2 separate regions of the Homo sapiens genome follow, and region 2 is linked to region 1. The links are contacts of gene promoters, found by promoter capture Hi-C in human tissues and cell types (Jung and others, 2019). All regions are on one chromosome and are shown on one strand. Each heading gives the region's core, a stretch centred on a gene start or on the middle of the fragment in contact. The rest is flanking DNA. Distances are from core to core; before and after follow the strand shown. Region 1 has its middle 22 kb from the start of SDHAF1. Region 2 holds the start of OVOL3 (ovo like zinc finger 3).

Region 1 (3,897 bases), core at 625-3,124:
TGGTCAGGCTGGTCTTGAACTCCTGACCTCAGATTATCCGCCTGCCTCAGCCTCCTAAAGTGCTGGGATTACGGGCATGAGCCACCGCGCCTGGCAGGACCCTGTCTCTTAAAAAAGGAAGAAGCAGCCTGTGTCGCAGGCACAAGTATGCCCGCAGGGCAGTGGTAACCCCCAGTGGGCCTGCCTGTGGGGGGTCTCTGGACAGGATAAGCCACATGGCTCATAGTGATTGTTTTCGGGGCACTCAATAGCTGCAGGGGCAGGAGTGGGGATGGAGAAAGACAGGAAGGGAAAGGTATTCACACCAGGACTCCCAGGTCTGGTTTCCAAGACCCAAGCATTTGGCCACCCCTATAGTGCAAATGTCCCTGCTCTCAGCTTCCAGGAATCCCTACCAACATCCTGTGGTCCTCACCCTCTAGAATGGAGCTCTCCAGGCAACAGACCCAGCAATCCCTGCCTCACAGAGTAAAGAAGTCTCTGTGCTAAGAAACCAGAAGTCCACTCCCCAGAACATAGAAGTCTGGCTCTGGGACAGGCGTAGTGGCTCACATCTGTAATCCCAGCATTTTGGGAGGCCAAGGTGGGAGGATCACTTGAGCTCAGGAATTAGAGACCAGCCTGGGCAACATAGGAAGACCTCATCTTTACAAAAAAAATTAAAAAATTATCTGGGCATAGTGGCACATGCCCGTGGTCCCAGATACTTGGGAAGCTGAGGAGGGAGGATGGCTTGAGCCTGGGAGGTTGAGGCTGCAGTGAGCTATGATAGTACCACTGCACTCCAGCCTTGGCAACAGAGTGATACCCTGTCTAAATAAACAACAGAGTGACATCCTGTCTAAATAAATAAATAAGTCTGGCTCTGGGACTCAGAGCGCTCACCCCAGATACTGGAGTTGTCACCACCTAGGTGTTCTAGTCTCTAGAACTTGAGAACCCAGCAGTCCCAGCCCTATAGCCAAGTTGTTCCCATGCCCAGGACCCAGAAGCCCTGGCCCCAGACCCAAAGAGCCCTGTCTCTGGGCCCTAGAATTATTTTCCCCGCACCCCCCAACTCAGCAGTCTTGCCCCCAGGACCCAGAGGCTGTCCCCTTCCAGGGACCCTACACCCTTGCCCCAGGAATCAGCCTCCAGAACTAAGGAGTGTCATTCCTAAGTCCCAGAATCCCCTTTACCCAGCAGCCTATAACCCTTTCCCTTGAAGGGTCACTCACGGCAGCCAGCCCAGAAGCTCGAGGGCTCAGTGTTGACACTGAGGCCTGACAGGGTGTACACAGACATGGAAGCACTCCCAAAGCGTAGGCAGGGAGCTGGGGAAGGGGCATATCCAGGCACGGCACTGGCCTCGAAGGGTGTAGGTGTCACACTTGGTGGCAGTGGCTAAGGGGCCCCTTTGGGGCTACAGGGACAGCACAGGGCCCCCAGTCTCCTGTGGGGACTAAGGCTTGGCTCAGGGTATCAGGTGGCTGCGGGGCCCAAATGCACGAAGACCAGTGGATCTGGACTGCCCATGTCATGGTCCTGCCTGAATGAAGTCACTGCACAGTCTGCCTTGTGTGAGTGGCAACCTTCAGCCACGTGCAGTGACGTGTGTGCTGCCGGTTGTAAAAGAGATGCAGTGTGGGCGGTTCTTGCTCCAGACCTGCCTCTGCCCATGGTTCTGAGGTGTGGAAGTACAACCATAGCCATCTGTCGCCCAGGATAACTGACAGCCCCAGCTGCTGTGGGTTCCCCTGCAGGAGTGACCAAGAGCTGGGGTCTTCAGAGGGGCTGAATTCCTGAGCATCGGGGAGGGGTGGAGGATAAGGAGGTTGAGGGGGTTGGATTCTGGGATATTGAGAGTGGGGCCTTTGCAGATCTAGGATGCCCCACCCTCGTCTACTAACCAAGAATCTTTCTTTTTCTTCTTCTTCTTCTTTTTTTTTTTTTCGAGACAGAGTCTCACCCTGCCGCCCAGGTTGGAGTGCAGTGGCACAGTCTCGGCTCACTGCAAGCTCCGTCTCCTGGGTTCACGCCATTCTCCTGTCTCAGCCTCCCCAGTAGCTGGGACTACAGGCGCCTGCCACCACGCCCCGTAATTTTTTGTATTTTTAGTAGAGACAGGGTTTCACTGTGCTAGCCAGGATGGTCTCGATCTCCTGACCTTGTGATCCGCCCACCTTGGCCTCCCAAAGTGCTGTGATTACAGGTGTGAGCCACCGTGCCCAGCTAACCAAGAATCTTTCTGTGTGTGTGTGTGTGTGTGTGTGTGTGTGTGTGTGTGTGTGTGTGTGTGTGTGTTTAAGTAGAGACGAGGTTTCGTCATGTTGCCCAGGCTGGTCTGGAACTCCTGAGCTCAAGCAGTCTGCCCACCTTGGCCTCCTAAAGTGCTGGGATTGTAGATGTGAGCCACCATGCCCAGCCTCTATCCGGGAATCTTTTTTTTTTTTTTTTTTTTTTTTGAGACAGAGTCTCGCTCTGTCTCCCAGGCTGGAATGCAGTGGCGAGATCTTGGCTCACTGCAACCTCCACCTCCCAGGTTCAAGCAATTCTGCTCTCTCAGCCTCCTGAGTAGCTGGGATTACAGGCGTGCACTACCATGCCAAGCTAATTTTTGTAGTTTTAGTAGAGACAGGGTTTCACCATGTTGGTCAGGCTGGTTTTGAACTCCTGACCTCGTGATCCGCCCGCCTTGGCCTCCCAAAGTGTTGGGATTACAGGCGTGAGCCACTGTGCCCGGCCTTCTTTTTTTTTTTTTTTAAACTGGGAGTCTTGATTTCAATATCCAGATTTGTCCTAACACAATACTTGCAAGTCCTCTTCTCAGGAATCTAGATGAGTAATCCTACCAAGGAGCCAGGTGTGCCCACCTCATCCAGTAAACAGGAGAGCCTTCAGACAGGACCCAAGGGCTTCCCCCATTACCAAGAGCCTCCACCTGTCCTTCCAGATCAAGGGGTACCTCCTTTCTCCCAGTCCATGATTTCCTTATTTTGCCTCACTTGGTGGTTTCCAGCCCACATTTCTCCTGCGTTCACTGCCCCACCCTGGTCCAAGCCCCATTGTCTCCTGCCGGGACTACTGCAGCAGCCTCCTCACTGTTGTTCCTCCAGGCCTCATTCCTTCACAAGCCCTGTAATCTGTTCTCAACTGGCAGCCACAGGGATGTTGTTAGTGTCTGATATAGTTTGGCTATTTGTCCCTGCCCAAATCTTGGCAGGGCGCAGTGGCTCACGCCTGTAATCCCAGCACTTTGGGAGGCTGAGGCAGGTGGATCACCTGAGGTCAAGAGTTCCAGACCAGCCTGGCCAACATAGTGAAACCCCGTGTCTACTAAAAACACAAAAATTATCCGAGTGTGGTGGCATGTGCCTGTAGTCCCAGGCTACTTGGGAGGCTGAGGCAGGACAATTGCTTGAACCTGGGAGGCAGAGGTTGCAGTGAGCCAAGATCTCACCACTGCACTCCAGCCTGGGCAACAGAGTGAGACTCAGTCTCAAAAAAAAAAAAAAAATTCTAAAATTCCAATTAATTGAGGAAGGAACACAGGAGTGTCAAGTCCTTGGGAAAAGAGGGATCATGTTGGTGAGAGTATAAGTCTGGAGCCCTGAGTATCTGAAGGTTCTGGATACCTGGGGTGGGGGCTACTGGATGCTGGGGAGCCTTAAGAGCACTGGGGGGCATCCTGACCCCTGAGTGGCAGGGCAAACTCCCAGGCGGTGTGGAGGCAGGTATGCAGCATCATGGCTTCACGTCTCGGGTCCTAGCTTTGCATATTTTCTGTGCTTTCCATATATTAGCTCATTTAATCCTCACTACAGCCCTATGAATCAGATCTTTTCATCATTCTCATTTCACATATGAAGAAATTGAGGCCCAGAGAGGTTAAATAATTTATCCAAGGTCACATAGATA
Region 2 (3,897 bases), core at 675-3,174, 140 kb before region 1:
CATACACAAACCATGGACACTCCACAGCCCAGCACCTCTCTCCATTTCCTTCCATCCCCACCTGGGGCCCAGCAACTTTTCCCTGTCCCTGCCACTGCTCACCAGTGTGAGTCCTCATGTGGCGCTTGAGATCGAAGGCGTCATGAAAGCCCTTGCCACAACAGCGGCACAGGTGGCGGCGCACGGGGCTGTGGCACTTGAGGTGCCTTGTCAGCATGCGCTGCAGAGGGAAGGCCTTAGGGCAGAGCGGGCAGCCCAGCGTCCCAGGGCCCCTGGGAGCAGAGGTCAGGTTGCCCTGTGTGGGCTGCTGGAGGGATGCAGGAGTTATTAGCCTCTCTGGCTGGACCCCATCCACCCTTTGTTACTCTGCAAATGAGTATTTACAGAGTGTCCTGAGCCACCACGGAGGATTAGGAAGGCAGGTGGGAGACAGTGATTAGTGTGTGTGCCTGTCACTCTCCAGGGCCTTCCCTCACTATCCCATGGTCCTTACTTTCTCTATGCCAAGTCCCATCTTCTGATGTGACATACACATTTTTTTTTTTTAAAGACAGAGTCTTGCTCTGTCGCCCAGGCAGGAGTGAAGTGGTATGATGTCAGGTCACTGCAACCTCCGCCTCCCGGGTTCAAGCGATTCTAGTGCCTCAGCCTCCCCACGATTACACGATTGTAGGCATGCGCCACATGCCCAGTTAATTTTTTTATTTTTTGTAGAGATGGGGTTTCACCATGTTGGCCAGGCTGGTCTTGAATTCCTGACCTCAAGCAATCCACCCACCTTGGCCTCACAAAGTGCTGGGATTACAGGCATGAGCCACTATGCCCGGTCTATTTTTCTAATTTTATTGTTTTTTTTGAGGGGGGATGGAGTCTAGATCTGTTTCCCAGGCTGGAGTGCAGTGGCGCAGACTCGGCTCACTGCATCCTCTGCCCTGCCTCCTAGGTTCAACTGATTCTCCTGCCTCAGCCTCCTGAGGAGCTGGGATTACAGGCACGTGCCACCATGTCTGGCTAATGTTTGTAATTTTAGTAGAGACAAGGTTTCAACATGTTGGCCAGCCTGGTCTCGAACTCATGACCTCAAGTGATTCACCCGCCTCGGCCTCCCAAAGTGCTGGAATTACAGGCTGACTAATTTTATTGTCTATACATGCAGCCCCAACCAGAATATAAGCTCCATAAAATTGTGGATTTTTGTCTTATTCCCGCTGAATATAACAGCCCATGCCTAGAACAGTGCCTTGCTTTCATGAATATATTACATTCCGGCTGGCGCTTTCCTTCCTCCAATGCATGCACAGCTGAAAAAGCCCTTATCTCCCATCGCACTCCTGTTGCCTTGTCCCATGTTCTGACATAAAGCGGATCATCCACATGTGGGGATGAATCTTGTGCCCCGCTGGAAGAGATCCCTGTGGCTGCCGGCCCTGGTGCCTGGGGTGAGACCTAACAGTAGAGAGCTCACTACTAGGAAAGGAGAGGCATTCCCAACACAGAGAAGTAGGGGCGGACAGGTCCCGAGGCTGGAGGGCGTGTGCAGATGGGTCGGGGGAGCAAGGGGCTGTCAGCTTCATTAAGGCTGAGAGCAGGCAGGAGCGAAACAGCTGGCTTTGCTAGCCAGTTACACACTCACCGCTGTCCACGGATCCCTGACACTGGACGACTGTTGTGCCGGTGGCCCCCCCAGGCTGCTGCAGTCTGAGGAGAAAAGCCAGATGGTGACACTGCGTCTCTCCTGCCCCTTACCTCCAGGCACAGTGAGGGGCCCACCTGGGATATAGGCATCTCCCCGGAGCTGGTCAGGCAGATGGCCCCAGTTGGGGGGCTGTGGACGCCGACTCCTGACCAGGAAGGCGCGGGGCATGCCCTCCGGAAGGCTCTCCACACACAGGGGCTGCTTCCACCTGCTGTCAGACCTCAGCCCCAGGATGACTATCCCTGGTGGGAAAGGAGGGGAAGCCTCTGAGGAACCTCATTCTCTTCATGCAAATTTCCTGGCTGGCCCTGGGAGTGGACTAAGCTGGCTCAGGTTACCCCTGCCTGGGGACCTGCCCATCTTCTCCCAGGTTTTGGAGGGAACCATCCAGCCTCCAGGGGTGGACAAGCACTAGGACCACCAAGCAGAGCCAGGCAAGGGGAGATGGGCCTGGGGAGCTTTTGAGGATAGGAAGAAGAAACAAGGCCCCAGGGGGACTGTCTCCCAGGGGTTGAGGGTCTGTTTGCCAGGCAAATCAGTCACCAGGGGACATCCAGCAGCCTGCCTGGTTATTCAAATCACAGCAGCTGTCTGAGGACACTGAAGGGGCCCCCTGCTGTGATTGCCCTGCTCTGTAGGGTGCAGGGAGGACAGCAGATCTGGATAAATCAGGGCAAAATGAGGATCCAGGCTGTGCATCCTCAGGTAGGATGCCCCACCTCTCTGATCTTCAGATTCCCAGGGCTAACATTCAGCCAGAAGCACTGTTCAGGTGTAGCAGGCACTAAAATACTAGTTTGTTAATAATCTAGCCCCTAGTTACTGCCTGGGACAACACTCTTCCTCCCTCCCACAGTCTGGAAAGTAAAAGGGGGTCTCCTATTTTTTTTTCTTTTTTTGAGACGGAGTTTCACTCTTGTTGCCCAGGCTGGAGTGCAGTGGCACCATCTTGGCTCACTGGAACCTCCACCTCCCGGGTTCAAACGATTCTCCTGCCTCAGCCTCCTGAGTAGCTGGGACTACAGGCATGCACCACCACACCGGGCTAATTTTTGTATTTTTGGTAGAGACAGAGTTTCACCATGTTGGCCAGGCTAGTCTTGAACTCCTGACGTCAAGTGATCCGCCTGCCTTGGCCTCCCAAAGTGCTGGGATTACAGGCATGAGCCACCGCACCTGGCCCAAAGGGGGTCTCTTGACACAGCCAGGGGCTCCCAGGACCCTACCCCGGCACACTGGCCAAGCTGTTTTACACTTGATTCTTAGCCAGAAGACTAAGAAGCAATCCAAGCTCTGTTTTTTAATTTTTTTTTTTTGAGGCGGAGTTTTGCTCGTTGCCCAGGCTGGAGTGCAATGGCGTGATCTTGGCTCCTCTATGACCTCCGCCTCCTGGGTTCAAGTGAGTCTCCTGCCTCAGCCTTCCAAGTAGCTGGGATTACAGGGGCACACCACTGCACCCAGCTGATTTTTTGTGTTTTTTGTAGAGATGGGGTTTCACCATGTTGGCCAGGCTGGTCTCAAACTCCTAAATGCAGGTGATCCGCCCGGCTCAGCCTCCCAAAGTGCTGGGATTACAGGCGTGAGCCACCGCGCCCAACCTGTTTTTATTTTTTTTGTTTTGTTTTGTTTTGTTTTTTGAGACAGATTCTCACTCTGTTGCCCAGGCTGGAGTGCAGTGGTACGATCTCCACACACTGCAGCCTCCGTCTCCTGGGTTCAAGCGATTCTGCTGCCTCAGTCCCCCAAGTAGCTGGGACTACAGGTGCGCACCACCACACCCGGCTAATTTTTGTATTTTTAGTAGAGATAGGGTTTCACCATGTTGGGCAGGCTGGTCTCAAACTCCTGACCTCGAGTGATCCACCTGCCTCAACCTCCCAAAGTGCTGGGATTACAGGCGTGAGCCATTGCGCCTGGCAACTAAACAATTTTCTAAGCTCCAGACCTAGCTTACTGAAAATGATCGCGTAAGTCCATGAAGGAGGCACACCAGTGACAGCCCAGAATGACCAAGACAGTGAGAGGCAAGTGAGGCAGAGACCCAGCCATGATGGGGAAAAGAGGGGTACCTGGGGACCCGAACAGGCTCCTGATCCAGGCTACGGGTACAGGGATGGCTTCCTGGATAAGCGCTGAAAGGTTTCAGATGAAAGGGGAGGGTGTTCTAGTCAGAGGGGGACATCTGTACAAGGCTTGCTGGT

The links. The method cuts DNA at HindIII sites, captures the fragments that hold promoters and counts their contacts. A contact is called where the count stands out against the background at its distance.
Region 2: the fragment with the promoter of OVOL3 here is called in contact with a fragment that was not itself captured in region 1 in 3 of the 25 tissues and cell types used here (dorsolateral prefrontal cortex, pancreas and spleen).

What each region holds. Positions count from the first base shown.
Region 1 is chr19:35,971,409-35,975,305 of GRCh38, reverse strand. No RefSeq gene overlaps it. Among named protein-coding and RNA genes, the nearest start is that of SDHAF1, 22 kb to the left of the region's middle. RefSeq lists a silencer at 1,552-1,752. The HindIII fragment of the contact is 9,546 bases long and covers 1-3,897 here.
Region 2 is chr19:36,109,170-36,113,066 of GRCh38, reverse strand. It overlaps OVOL3 (ovo like zinc finger 3), which reads right to left and starts at 1,924. Exons shown (of 4, transcript NM_001302757.2): 1 at 1,771-1,924; 2 at 1,634-1,698; 3 at 103-307. The coding sequence starts at 1,864. It also overlaps a transcript of WDR62 not described here. RefSeq lists enhancers at 1,065-1,694, 1,695-2,325. The HindIII fragment of the contact is 22,945 bases long and covers 1-3,897 here.